Linked DNA regions of Homo sapiens: region 1 is linked to region 2. The links are contacts of gene promoters, found by promoter capture Hi-C in blood cells and fetal thymus (Javierre and others, 2016). All regions are on one chromosome and are shown on one strand. Each heading gives the region's core, a stretch centred on a gene start or on the middle of the fragment in contact. The rest is flanking DNA. Distances are from core to core; before and after follow the strand shown. Region 1 overlaps CACNA1C (calcium voltage-gated channel subunit alpha1 C). Region 2 holds the start of ITFG2 (integrin alpha FG-GAP repeat containing 2).

Evidence for each region. Contacts are between HindIII fragments. The CHiCAGO score rates a contact against its expected background, and 5 or more counts as called.
Region 1: a contact is called between a fragment that was not itself captured here and the fragment with the promoter of ITFG2 in region 2, in 6 of 17 cell types (naive CD8 T cells, naive CD4 T cells, fetal thymus and 3 more). The highest score is 6.3, in naive CD8 T cells.

What each region holds. Positions count from the first base shown.
Region 1 is chr12:2,675,583-2,678,282 of GRCh38, reverse strand. CACNA1C (calcium voltage-gated channel subunit alpha1 C) reads right to left here. Exons shown (of 47, transcript NM_000719.7): 40 at 1,062-1,189; 41 at 416-550. It overlaps CACNA1C-AS1 (CACNA1C antisense RNA 1), which reads left to right. Exons shown (of 4, transcript NR_045725.1): 4 at 386-2,282. Among named protein-coding and RNA genes, the nearest start is that of CACNA1C-AS2, 4.7 kb to the right of the region's middle. RefSeq lists an enhancer at 745-1,246. The HindIII fragment of the contact is 2,511 bases long and covers 4-2,514 here.
Region 2 is chr12:2,811,081-2,813,917 of GRCh38, reverse strand. It overlaps ITFG2 (integrin alpha FG-GAP repeat containing 2), which reads right to left and starts at 1,250. Exons shown (of 12, transcript NM_018463.4): 1 at 1,062-1,250. The coding sequence starts at 1,157. ITFG2-AS1 (ITFG2 antisense RNA 1) reads left to right here and starts at 994. Exons shown (of 4, transcript NR_146317.1): 1 at 994-1,356. RefSeq lists enhancers at 974-1,223, 954-1,703 and a silencer at 1,334-1,423. The HindIII fragment of the contact is 13,075 bases long and covers 1-2,837 here.

The DNA of each region.
Region 1 (2,700 bases), core at 10-2,509, 140 kb after region 2:
GCTTAATATTACCAGGTCTCCTGACTTTTCCAAAGAATGCCAGAAGTCTTGATTTTCAAATATTAACAAACAAAACAAGCCTGCAGATTAGATGTGCCCCAGGGGTGACCACTCTGCAACTTCTAATGCAGAAGTTTCTCCTAGGAAACATTTCCCTTAGGAAGGCGGTTCCTTCCCGCTTCTCTGAGAGCCAGTGACACTGAGAGCTGCTGTTTCCAGGGAGCCCTGCCTTGGGATGGAGTCAGGCTTGGAAAAGGCAAAGGGGTGAGGAGACAGCTCATCAGGAAGAGCCTGGAAGTAGCCCTTTCCTCTGGTGCAGCTCCTTCCCCTGGACGTTCCCCGCAAAACCCCAGCCCAACCTCTTGCTCCAAACTGAACTTTATAGGGGTCGAGAGTGCGCCATGGCACCACCCACCCTGAAGATGTCATCTTCAGAAGCAGCGGACACAGCCTCCTTCATGGCCTTGTCCAGCTCCTCCTCAGCGGTGAGATCTCCAGAGATGGCCCGTCGGATCTCAGGCCCGATGTCATGCAGTGTGCGCAAGCCAGCCTGGAATCCAAGGGGAGGATGGTGAGGACCACGCTCCCTTTCCTCCAAGCTCCCCAGCCAGCCACAGCCTCGGGCCAAGACCTGTCCCTCCAGGGCCCTGGCATCCTCCACCCAGCCAGTCGACCCTCCGGAAGGTTTGTGTGTGTGTGAACTGGGGGCTGGGCTGCCCTCTGATGGAACAATCCACTCGCCCATCCAGGAGGGATGAAGGCTCATTAGGACGGGGCACCAGGGGTCAGGGGCTGTCACGGGAGCCTCAGTGAAGTATTTGAGAGATCTGGGGGCTATGACAGCAGGCAGAACCATGGAGGGCAGTCGGTGGGTGGCAGGTAGGGAAGGGCACATCACCCCCTTCTCACAGCCATCTTTGGAAAGGTCTGGAGCTCTCTGAAAGGTTCCCTCTGCAGGGACCTGGCCTCCAGCCTGCTGGGGAGGGACCGGGACCCTGACTGGAGGTCAGAGGCAATGACCAGGACCTTCCTGGAGTGTGGGCCCGCCCCCAGGCCCTCACCTGCAGAGACAGCGCGTTCCTCTGGGAGGGCTTGCCCACAAGGCCCTGCTCTTTGCGCTTCTTGAACTTCCGGAAGTACTCCTGGATCAGGAACGTGGCGTAGAACTTGCCAACGGTGACCTCATCATCTGAGACGTATGGAGAGGGGAGAGGGGGTAAGAGGGGAGCAGGGGAATTCAGTTGAACTTCATTCATTTTTTTTTTCAGCATCCAAAACTTTTTAAAACTTTAATATTTTTGGAGAGGTAATACATTCACATGGCTTAAAAAGAGAGAAAAAAAACCATAAAAAGGCTTATGGTCAAAAGTCTCTCCCACCACAGCCCTTATCTGCCTAGTCACCACCTCCTGTAGATCATCTAGTTTCTTGAGTATTTTCTCAGAGATTCTTAGTGCAAATTAGTTATGTAAATCATCAAACATATTATCTCCTGTTTTTTTTATGCAAAAGGTAGCCTACCATCAAAATTATTTCCCGCTTTTTTTTTTTTAACTGAACTGATACATTTGATTCCAGAGCTTCAAATGTCCCTCATCAACTGGCCACTCTTCCAAGTGCAAGTGCAAAACGGTTCAGCTTAGCTCGGAGGGAGGGGCTGGTGGAAGGAGGGCTTTCTTCCCATGGAAGTTTGGATTTTTCTTTCAAACCCGATTGAGTTTTTGTGCCAGGTGGCTTGGCTGCATCCCTGCTGGGCTGGATACCCAAGATTATATGTGACATCATCAGTCCCTTTCCTGGGAGTAAACCTGATGGTGGAGAAGCCATAAGTTCTTAGAGGAAACATTTCATGCCTGGGGAGGAGCCCCTTGGATCTACCTCCTGGTTCTTTGTGAAGAGATGCCACGGGCCCAAGAGACAGCTGGGGATTAAATCTAGGGGCTGGTGAGGGTTCTCCTCCTCCTACCTGTCCCTCCAAAATAGCCACATCCATAGCAGTGATGACCCCTCCCTTCTCTGGCAAGCACCCCCTTTCCACGTGGGAGGGAAAAACCCAGGGTCCCCTGTCCAGCATAGTCAGGAAGGAAGAACTGCATGGTGGGACAAGCCTGGAGTCCTACCTGGAGTCCTAGGTTCCCTGGGGCCTGGGTTTGAATCCTGAATCTGCTGTGGACTCTCCAGGTAACCTTGGGCCAGCAACTTAGCTTCTAAGAACTTTAGTTCCCTGAGCAAACTTCACAGAAATGTTGTCAGGATTCAATAAAACGATGTATGTAAACATCACATGGCACTGGCGAGATTTTCGCTTAGCCCAAATCCGGCTTTCCCTCTGGCAAATGGTTCTCAACACAAGTGGTGTCGCCTCTTAAGGAGGGCACAGTAAATGTGTGGGGTGGTTTTTAGTTGTCGGGGTACTGTGGGGGTGCCACTAGCATTAAGTAGCTCCAGACCTGTCCCTTAAAGTGCAGGCATGTTCTGCAATCACAGCTTTGCACTCTGCATGGCTCTCAAGCTTATGCCACACATCCATGATTCTGCTTAGGAGTCTCTGGGCTCGGAACATAATTTCATTTTGCAAATGAACACAGGACATTGTTTTGCATGGTTTTAACACACCTGACAATTTCCAGGAATACAACTGCTGTGTAAATTGAGGAAAACTATACTTTGGATTATTTAAACTTGGCCAAGAGAGGTTCG
Region 2 (2,837 bases), core at 1-2,500:
CATAAAATTGGACTGCTTGGCAGTTCATGAAGAAACACGAAAGCCCAGAAAACATAACACAAATTTATGAGAATAACTCTTTCCTCCCCAGAGAGGGTAGAGCCAAAAAAGGCCTCATAAGATACCTTCTGCATCACAGCACTAGGGGGCGGTGGGAAATAAGTACAGGACAGTTAAGGAACTGTGAAGCAGGGAGGCCGAGTAGGAAGATAGGGCAGAGGGTAGAAGGGGGCAATACAGTGCTTTGCATTAGAACTATGAAATAGATGATAAATGAAAAGATAAAGTCTGCAAAAAAAAGAGCATCAGACACTATTCCCTTTAATGCTCCACCGGAGAATCCTCTCCATACTTTAGTCAATGCATCTCATTACATTTTATTATCCGGTGACTATTACACAGCTTGATTATGAGCTATCTGAGGACTGGAACTCTCTCGTTCATTTTTGAATTCCTAGAATGTAGCAGAGTCCTTGGTGCATAATGAGCAGTTCAGTAAAGATTTGCAGAAAAACAGAATAAAATACTAACACCACCACCACCACCACTAACACTTAAGTGAGCACTAAACTGTGTGCCAGGCATTGTTTTACCTGCTTGACCTGTGGTAATTTATTTAAAAAACGAGAAGGGCTGGGCACGATGGCTCAGGCCTGTAGTCCCAGCACTTTGGGCCAACATGGTGAAACCCCACCTCTACTAAAAACACAAAAATTAGTCGGGCGTGGTGGCGGGCGCCTGTAATCCCAGCCCCTTGGGAGGCTGAGGTAGGAGAATCGCTCGAGCCCGGGAGGCAGAGGTTGCGGTGAGCCGAAATCAAGCCACTGCACTCCAGCCTGGGTGACAGACGGAGCCTGTCTCAAAAAACAAACAAAACCTCCCAAGGAACAAAACCAACCACGAACACTGAAGCTATCAATAAAGTTTTTCTCTCTAGCGCTCCAAACTAGCCACAGCGCGCATGCTCACGCTCACGTGGCACGCTCGGGCGGCCTCTTCCACTTCCCTTGCCCCGTCCCTGCACAGATCCAGGCTGTCTCTTGCGGTGCGCATGCACCTACCGTATCGTTATCAACGTCTCCGAGGCAGATTGCGTGCGGGAAGAGGCTCCCGCTGAACTCCAGCGCCACGCGCTGCACGTAGCTAACTGACCTCATGGCACCTCCAAGAGCAGAGGGAGCGGAGAGGCCCAGTAAATATTCCCTGAACCCCCGTCGCGACAGCCGCCAGAGCGGAAGGCCACCTAAGGCAGCAAGTTACGTCACTGCCTGAACCTCCAATCTCTGCCTCTTCCTCCTTTAACCTTACAGAGGAGGCGGGTCTTCCGGGCTTGGAGGCGGGCTTCCCAACTCTGATGTGAGTGACAGGCCCACGGGCCACTCCTTTTCTCCACAGGGCTGCAGACCGTGGGTAAACCAACCCTGACGGGGGTCGATCTGTTCCCTTGGCAACAGGGCTCCCAAGGGCTTGACCTAATAACCTTGACCTTTTTCCTTTGTTTCCCTGGCAATGAAGATTCCTAGCCATCAGACCATTCCTGAGAATCTTACTAATCTTCGTAATAACTGATAATTGCATGGTTTTGAAAAGTGTTTTTAAAAAACTACCCATTAGGAGTGAAAACAATGTAGTGAGTTGCAATCAGCATATAAAAAATTAAATACAATAGTAATATACCAAGTGACTCCCAGGTAGTAAGGTAAGTACAGTTTTTGTGAAACTCTTGTTTCAATTGTATATACTTATATGTGTATACTGGCTTATAATGTAAAAAAAATTTTTTTTTTCAGTGTATGTGTTTTCTGGTCAATAGTTTAAAAGCCACCTGCTGCAAAGCACATTTCACATATTTCACATAATTAGTTCAGCCACTATGCGAGCTTTTTTTTTTTTTGGCTGAGGAAAACAGGTTCAGCAAGATTAAGTAAAATGGCAGAAGGAAGGATTGTGGGGCGGGGTGCGTGCTCAAACCAGAATTGTTTGATCCCAAACCCTAGGGCCTCTCCATCATTTACTATCATAGTTCGTAGGAGAGTCTTCAGGCTGGAAGTGAAGGTTGCCTGGATTCCGGATCTGCTCTGTCTTGTGGCCCCCCAGCACAAAGCTCTTGCATCTCAACCTCAGTAGCCTTACTCTTGTAGCACAGATGGGACTGTCACTCTCATGGCTGGCTTCTTGGGATACTTTCTTTCCATGTTGAATCCAGTTCTGCCTTTCTTTGGGGTGCCTCGTCAATCAGGGCAATATTTATGAAATCATACAGGTGTTCAATACATTTTTAGATTTAGGTCTAAAAACCCAGGCTGACTCGCACTTGGTGTTTCAAAAAAAAAAAAAAAATGATTCTACCTTATCTGGGATTTTGGACCAGGGGCTGTTCCTTTTTATCTTTTTTTTTTTTATTTTTATTTTTATTTTTTTTTGAGACAGAGTCTCGCTCTGTTGCCCAGGCTGTAGTGCAGTGGCGCAATCTCGGCTCACTGCAACCTCTGCCTCCCAGGTTCAAGCAGTTCTCCTGCCTCAGCCTCCCGAGTAGCTGAGACTACAGGCGAGCGCCACCACGCCCAGCTAATTTTTAATTTAATTTAATTTAATTTTTTTTTTTTTTGAGACGGAGTCTCGCTCTGTCACCCAGGCTGGAGTGCAGTGGTGCGATCTCGGCTCGCTGCAAGCTCCGCCTCCCGGGCTCAAGCCATTCTCCTGCCTCAGCCTCCGGAGTAGCTGGGACTACAAGCGCCCGCTACCACTCAAGGAGAATTTTTTGTATTTTTAGTAGAGACGGCGTTTCACCGTGTTAGCCAGGATGGTCTCGATCTCCTGACCTCGTGATCCACCCG